2 separate regions of the Homo sapiens genome follow, and region 2 is linked to region 1. The links are contacts of gene promoters, found by promoter capture Hi-C in blood cells and fetal thymus (Javierre and others, 2016). All regions are on one chromosome and are shown on one strand. Each heading gives the region's core, a stretch centred on a gene start or on the middle of the fragment in contact. The rest is flanking DNA. Distances are from core to core; before and after follow the strand shown. Region 1 holds the start of CARD8 (caspase recruitment domain family member 8). Region 2 has its middle 7.4 kb from the start of SNAR-C1.

Region 1 (3,173 bases), core at 67-2,566:
AAAAACAATTAGCTGGGTGTGGTGGTGGGCACCTGTAGTCGCAGCTACTCGGGAGGCTGAGGCAGGAGAGTGCTTTCAGAGAAACTTCTTGATCACAAGGGGAAATCTGAAAGTTGTCAGAACAAAATGGAGTCACTTATGTTAAGATAACCCTGACAAATAGAGCCAGGAAGGCCATGAAGAGAGGGCTCTTATCCTTGCATGCCTGAAGATGAAAAAGACTCTACAAAACCCACAACCTTACATAAAGGTCTTCACAACCTTAAAAAAATATATATTTCTGCAAGGAATGCTGCCCAGCAACTGCTGGTCCAACCTAGGACTAATGTCACCCTTGTTACTGATCTTTGTAGCCAAGGAAAATTCTGTTAAAACAATATGCAATCCTCCCCATTTCTGTCTTCCTTTATCTCCCTGAATATACACATAGTTTAATACGGCATGTCTATTCCCAATTGCAATGCTCTATTCCCAAATAAACATTGTTTCCGGCTGGGCGCAGTGGCTCACGCCTGTAATCCCAACACTTTGGGAGGCCAAGGCGGGCTGATCTCGAGGTCAAGAGACGGAGACCATCCTGGCCAACATGGTGAAACCCCGTCTCTACTAAAAAATAAAAAATTAGCTGGATGTGGTGGTGCACGCCTGTAGTCCCAGCTACTTGGGAGACTGAGGCACGAGAATCGCTTGAACCTGGGAGGCAGAGGTTGCAGTGAGCCAAGATCATGCCACTGTACTCCAGCCTAGCCACAGAGCGAGACTCCATCTCAAAAAGAAAAAAAAATTGTTTCCCTTAGGAAGCTTTCATATGTTTGTTAGTTAGGTTAACACTTCTAATAATTAAAGTTATACAGTTACAGTGTAAAATTATTAGTATTAACAACATAAACATTGGTATAAAAATTATTATTACAGAAATTAAAACAAATTGAGTGTGAGAGAGATTATTAAGACTGTCCAAGCCAAGTCACTGAAGTCATAAATTTAAGTTATGACAGGATGCCGAGCTTCCAGAGGGTTTTGTTTTTAACAAGGGAGGGGCCCTATTTCCCCTTCTGACACGCTCATATGAACTTCTCACTTTGTCGTACTCCTTCCTTGCTGACTAAGAGGAACAGAACACAGAGCAGCCTGGCGGTGTCCTACCAACAAGCCTCCGTTTCTCCTTCCTGTACACTAGGGCTCCTGAAACTCACCTGGTAAGCGCTCCAGAAAAGCAGCAGGTGGTGACTTTAGGGTAGGACGGGCCAAATGGGAGAATCCCCTTAGGTCGGTTTCTCTGGTTCTCAACTTCTTTTGAAATAACGCTCGCAGAGGAGGTGGGCTTTCTGAGAACTGAGGGAAGTAAGCTCTCAGGACTTCCGGTCGCCATGATGGCTGTGGGCAGTCAATGGGGTCAGTGCAAGCATCTGGGCCATCTTTAATGTGGGCAGGAAAAAAACACGATTACACTTACTTCTGCAGAGTTTATAATATCCTTGTTCATTATTTAAAATAAAATATCTAAGACATAGGTAATAGTATATTTTAAATAAAATTGAAGCAATATATGAAATTTCTCTGGAATTCATCCAGCCACTCTCAGCTGTTACCACTATCCAGAAACGTCTTAATCCGCCTGCATGATTTATGTATTTGGTTTGTATTTTAAATATCATTTTCTGTAATATTTAAAAGTTGTATTTGCTTGGTATCCTGCTATGCATTCTCATGCAATTTGATTTTTAATCAATATTACTTTTTTTTTTTTTTGAGATGAAGTCTCCGTCTGTCACCCAGGCTGGAGTGTAATGGAGCAATCTCGGCTCACTGCAACCTCTGCCTCCCAGGTTCAAGCGATTCTCTTGCCTCAGCCTCCCGAGTAGCTGGAATTATAGGTGCATGCCACCACGCTCGGCTAATTTTTTGTATTTTTAGTAAAGACGGAGTTTCACCATGTTGGTCAGGATGGTCTCCGTCTCTTGACCTCGAGATCAGCCCGCCTCGGCCTCCCAAAGTGCTGGGATTACAGGCGTGAGCCACTGTGCCCGGCCTTGGTTTCTAAATACTATTTTGAAGTATCTGTGGAGAAATGGTTACTTCGAGGGCTGGGGCAGGAATATATAAGATAACATTGGAACAAATTCTGACGCCAGAACATGAAGAAATATTTGAAAAAGGATGGGGCATATTGACTGAACACAGAAGACAAACATGCATGACCTCAGCCTAATCGTGAGAAAACATCAAAGAAATCCAAATTGATAAACATTCTGTAAAATAATTGGCCATGCTCAGCAAAAGTGTCACAATCACAAAAGACAAGGGAAGAATAAGAAACGGTCACAGCCTGGAGGAATCTAAGGACATAACAACTGAGTGCAATGTGAGATCCTCGATTCGATCTTGGAGAAGAAAGAGGACGTTAAGAGAAATATTGACAAAATTCAAATAAGGTCTGCACATTAGGTAATGGTAAGATACGTTGACATCAATTTCCTGGTTGGATACTTGTATTACATATACTATTATGTATATAATTATTATATTACAATTACATATACAGTTGTATATTATATATAATACAATAAATGTATATATATGATTATAATACAATAAATGTATATATACAGTTTTATATATAACAACTATTATACATATAATACAATTATATATATAGCTAACATCAGGATAGGCTGGTTGAGGATTTATATGAATCTTTGCTAATTTTGCATGTTTAAAATTATTTCAACATAAAAAAATTATATGGGTCATGTAGTTTTTTGTGCAGTTTAATTCTAGGCACCATAGTTTCTGTTTTAATGGGTGTATTTTCTTCTTTCAAGGAATTGGGATAGTCTGTTGTATTAAAAACCTATTCATTTTTGTACATTAAGATTCTTCTGGCCAGGCGCAATGGCTCAAGCCTATAATCCCAGCACTTGGGAACCTGAGGCAGGCAGATCACCTGAGGTCAGGAGTTCAAGACCAGCATGTCCAACATGGTGAAACCCCATCTCTACTAAAAATACAAAAAAAATTAGCCAGGCATGGTGGCACATGCCTGTAATCCCAGCTACTTGGGAGGCTGAGGAGGAGACTCACTAGAACTCAGGAAGCAGAGGTTGCAGTGAGCCAAGACTGCGCCACTGCACTCTGGCCTAAGCAACAGAGGGAGACTCCATCTCAAAAAA
Region 2 (3,202 bases), core at 193-2,692, 290 kb before region 1:
GAGATTGCACCACCGCACTCCAGCTTGGGTGACAGAGCAAGACTCCGACTCAAAAAAAAAAAAAAAAGGTCTCATGGAGGAAGTCAGTTCTGTAGAATGACCCCACTGCAAGATGCTCTTCCAGTGCCAGGAAGTGGATTATGTTCTAGGAGCCATGAAGGAGAGTTTACAGAAGCCCATTCTCCGCTTCATCATCATTGTAACACAATGAAAGCTGATGACATGGCTGCTTGGCTACACTGTGTTTATCAGCTTCTCCTGCATTTAGAATGGGGGCATGTAACTACACACTCTAAGTAGGTGCTTACCCAGGTCCAGAGTCTCCAGGAATAAGATCAATGTAGAAGAGCAGCTACAGAAGGAGTCGGTTGACTTGAATGACATAAAAATAAATCATGGTAATTGCTTAAGCCTCAGCATTTTTTTTGTACTGTCCCATTTAGATAAATGAATAGAGTTTGACAACAGTCTTTCATGTCTTTGTTGGTGCCACCAAGCTCTGAAATTCCCAAGGAACATAATGTTTCTTCACGCGCTCCATTCTCGTAGGAGGCTAACTACGATGACGTGCAATGTGACTTTTCCCTATCTTAATAGCTGGGCCCAAGGGTCTGGGAACCGATGTGAGTCATACGCCTTTCTGAAAATATTTTTTTCAAACTGTATTACTCCTGGGCCCTGCGGAAATCATTGCAGAAAGTATTTGGTATCACACTGAGCTAACAGAGAAGTGAACCTAACTCAGGACTCTGTCTCATGTTCCTATAATCTTCCACTCTAATCACTGGATATCAGTGGTATTCCTAGTCCTTGAAAACTAATCTTTGCTCAAAACCAGTATTCAGTAGGCTCTGGAAAGTTTATGTATTTACCTTTGTAATTTCTTTCTTTCTTTCTTTCTTTCTTTCTTTCTTTCTTTCTTTCTTTCTTTCTTTTTTCTTTCTTTCTTTCTTTTTTCTTTCTTTCTTTCTTTCTTTCTTTTTTTTCTGAGAGACTAGAGTTTCGCTCTAGTCTCTCACGCTGGAGTGCAATGGCGCGATCTCAGTTCACTGCAACCTCCGCCTCCCAGGCTCAAGCGATTCTCCTGCCTCAGCCTCCCGAGTAGCTGGGATTACAGGAATGCGCCACCATGCTCAGCTAATTTTTGTATTTTTAGTAGAGATGGGGTTTCACCATGTTGGCCAGGCTGGTCTCGAACTCCTGACCTCAGGGGATCCACCCCCCTCGGCCTCCCAAAGTGCTGGGATTACAGGCGTGAGCCACCGTGCCTGGTCCCTTTGCATTTTCTTACTGTGTCTGCCTATGGCCTTATAGCAGTGCCTGGTTACCCAGCCTTGCCTTCACTCAAGGGGCATTGAGTTGGTGAACTGTCTTGTGCCTGGAACTGGGAGAAAAGCCATGACTCTAGCGCGATGGTTCCAGTCTGGCTGTTATACTGTGGATCTTCTGTGCAATGAACGTCTTTTTTTTTTTTTTTTTTTTGAGACAGAGTCTTGCTCTGTCACCAGGCTGGAGTGCAGTGGTGCAATCTCAGCTCACTGAAACCGCCCCCTCCCGGGTTCAAGCAATTCCCCTGCCTCAGCCTCCCAAGTTGCTGGGGCTACAGGTGTGTGCCACCATGCCAGGCTAATTTTTTGTATTTTAGTAGAGACGGGGTTTCACCATGTTGGCCAGGATGGTCTCGATCTCATGACCTCGTGATCTGCCCGCCTCGGCCTCCCAAAGTGCTGGGATTACAGGCATGAAGCACTGCACCTGGCCACAATGAATGTCTTTAAGTGAACTGTCAGTTGAATTCATTTCTGAAAAAAACCTATGATTATCACCACCAGATGTCGCTCTTGCACCAGCCATTCTCTATGATCTGATTAGTAATTATACCCTGTTGCCTGGTATCACTTTGCTTCTTAGGGATTAATTGCCACCACCTGGGCTCAATCACACCAGGCTCTGCCTGTCTCCACTGGAACCCTGAAGCTCACTTCAAAAAGCATGGCTTTCTGCTAGCATTCCTAGAGCGGAAAAGCAAGTCAGCCATATTCTTTACAAAAGATTTCCTATGCTTTGTGAAAGATTAAGATGAGATTTATGGGTTCACAAAGACAATGTTTCCGTTTTTTTAACCATAATCTATAGAAAGAATAGACTTTAAAATATGAGCTGACTTCTATCTATCCATCATCTATATCTTTCTATTTAGGCATCCCTATCTATCTATACAATCTCTAAACCTTTTTAGAAATAACTCATGCCATACACATGAAACACTCTGTGTTTTTCCATCCACGTTTGCAGTATTTTTAATTTAAACAATGCTGGTTGTGCTTTGATAAATGGAAGATTATGACTCACCATTTGAAAAGAGCTGGCCTAAGTGTGTGTCTTTCTTTTCTTTTCTTTTCTTTTCTTTTCTTTTCTTTTCTTTTCTTTTCTTTTCTTTTCTTTTCTTTCTTTTTTTGATGGAGTCTCACTCTGTCGCCCAGGCTGGAGTGCAGTGTTGCTATCTCGGCTCGCTGCAGCCTCAGCCTCCCGGATTCAAGCGATCCTCCTGCCTCAGCCTCCTGAGTAGCTGGGATTACAGGCGCCTGCCACCACACCTGGCTAATTTTTGTATTGTTAGTAGAGATGGGGTTTCACCATGCTGGCCGGGCTGGTCTCAAACTCCTGACCTCAGGTGATCCACCCGCCTTGGCCTCCCAGTGTTGGGATTACAGGCTTGGACCACCGTGCCTGGCCCTAAGTGTTTTCTAACATAAGCATGGATAGGTTTAAGAGTGGAGGGTGGGCGTTTGTGTGTGTGTGTGTGTGTGTGTGTGTGTGTTTGTGTGTGTGTGTGTGTGTGGTCACAGGGCCTCTGGACATTGCCATCCCCCTTCACCTCTGCACCTGCCTAATTGTCATTAAACTATCGGGACCCAGCCTGGTTGTTGTCCCTTGTCCCTTCCTAGAAGTGATCCCTGATCCTGCAGGCTGAGCAAGGGTCCCGTTCTCTGGCCTCCTCTTACCCCTGGAGTCTCTGGTTTTTTTTTTTTTAAATTAGTTAATTAATTAATGTATTTTTGAGACGGAGTTTCACTCTGTCTCCCAGGCTGGAGTGCAGTGGTGCAATCTCAGCTCACTGCAACCTCCACCTCCCGGGTTCAAGTGATTCTCCTGCCTCAGCCTCCTGAGTAGCTGGGATTACAGGCAGGCACCACCACAC

What was found. Contacts are between HindIII fragments. The CHiCAGO score rates a contact against its expected background, and 5 or more counts as called.
Region 2: a fragment that was not itself captured here is called in contact with the fragment with the promoter of CARD8 in region 1 in 10 of 17 cell types (naive B cells, total B cells, M2 macrophages and 7 more); the score reaches 10.1 in naive B cells.

The regions. Positions count from the first base shown.
Region 1 is chr19:48,254,596-48,257,768 of GRCh38, forward strand. CARD8 (caspase recruitment domain family member 8) reads right to left here and starts at 1,317. Exons shown (of 14, transcript NM_001184900.3): 1 at 1,197-1,317. It overlaps CARD8-AS1 (CARD8 antisense RNA 1), which reads left to right and starts at 1,080. Exons shown (of 2, transcript NR_040599.1): 1 at 1,080-1,199; 2 at 1,756-3,173. RefSeq lists an enhancer at 1,186-1,425. The HindIII fragment of the contact is 2,537 bases long and covers 800-3,173 here.
Region 2 is chr19:47,961,511-47,964,712 of GRCh38, forward strand. No RefSeq gene overlaps it. Among named protein-coding and RNA genes, the nearest start is that of SNAR-C1, 7.4 kb to the left of the region's middle. The HindIII fragment of the contact is 5,095 bases long and covers 1-3,202 here.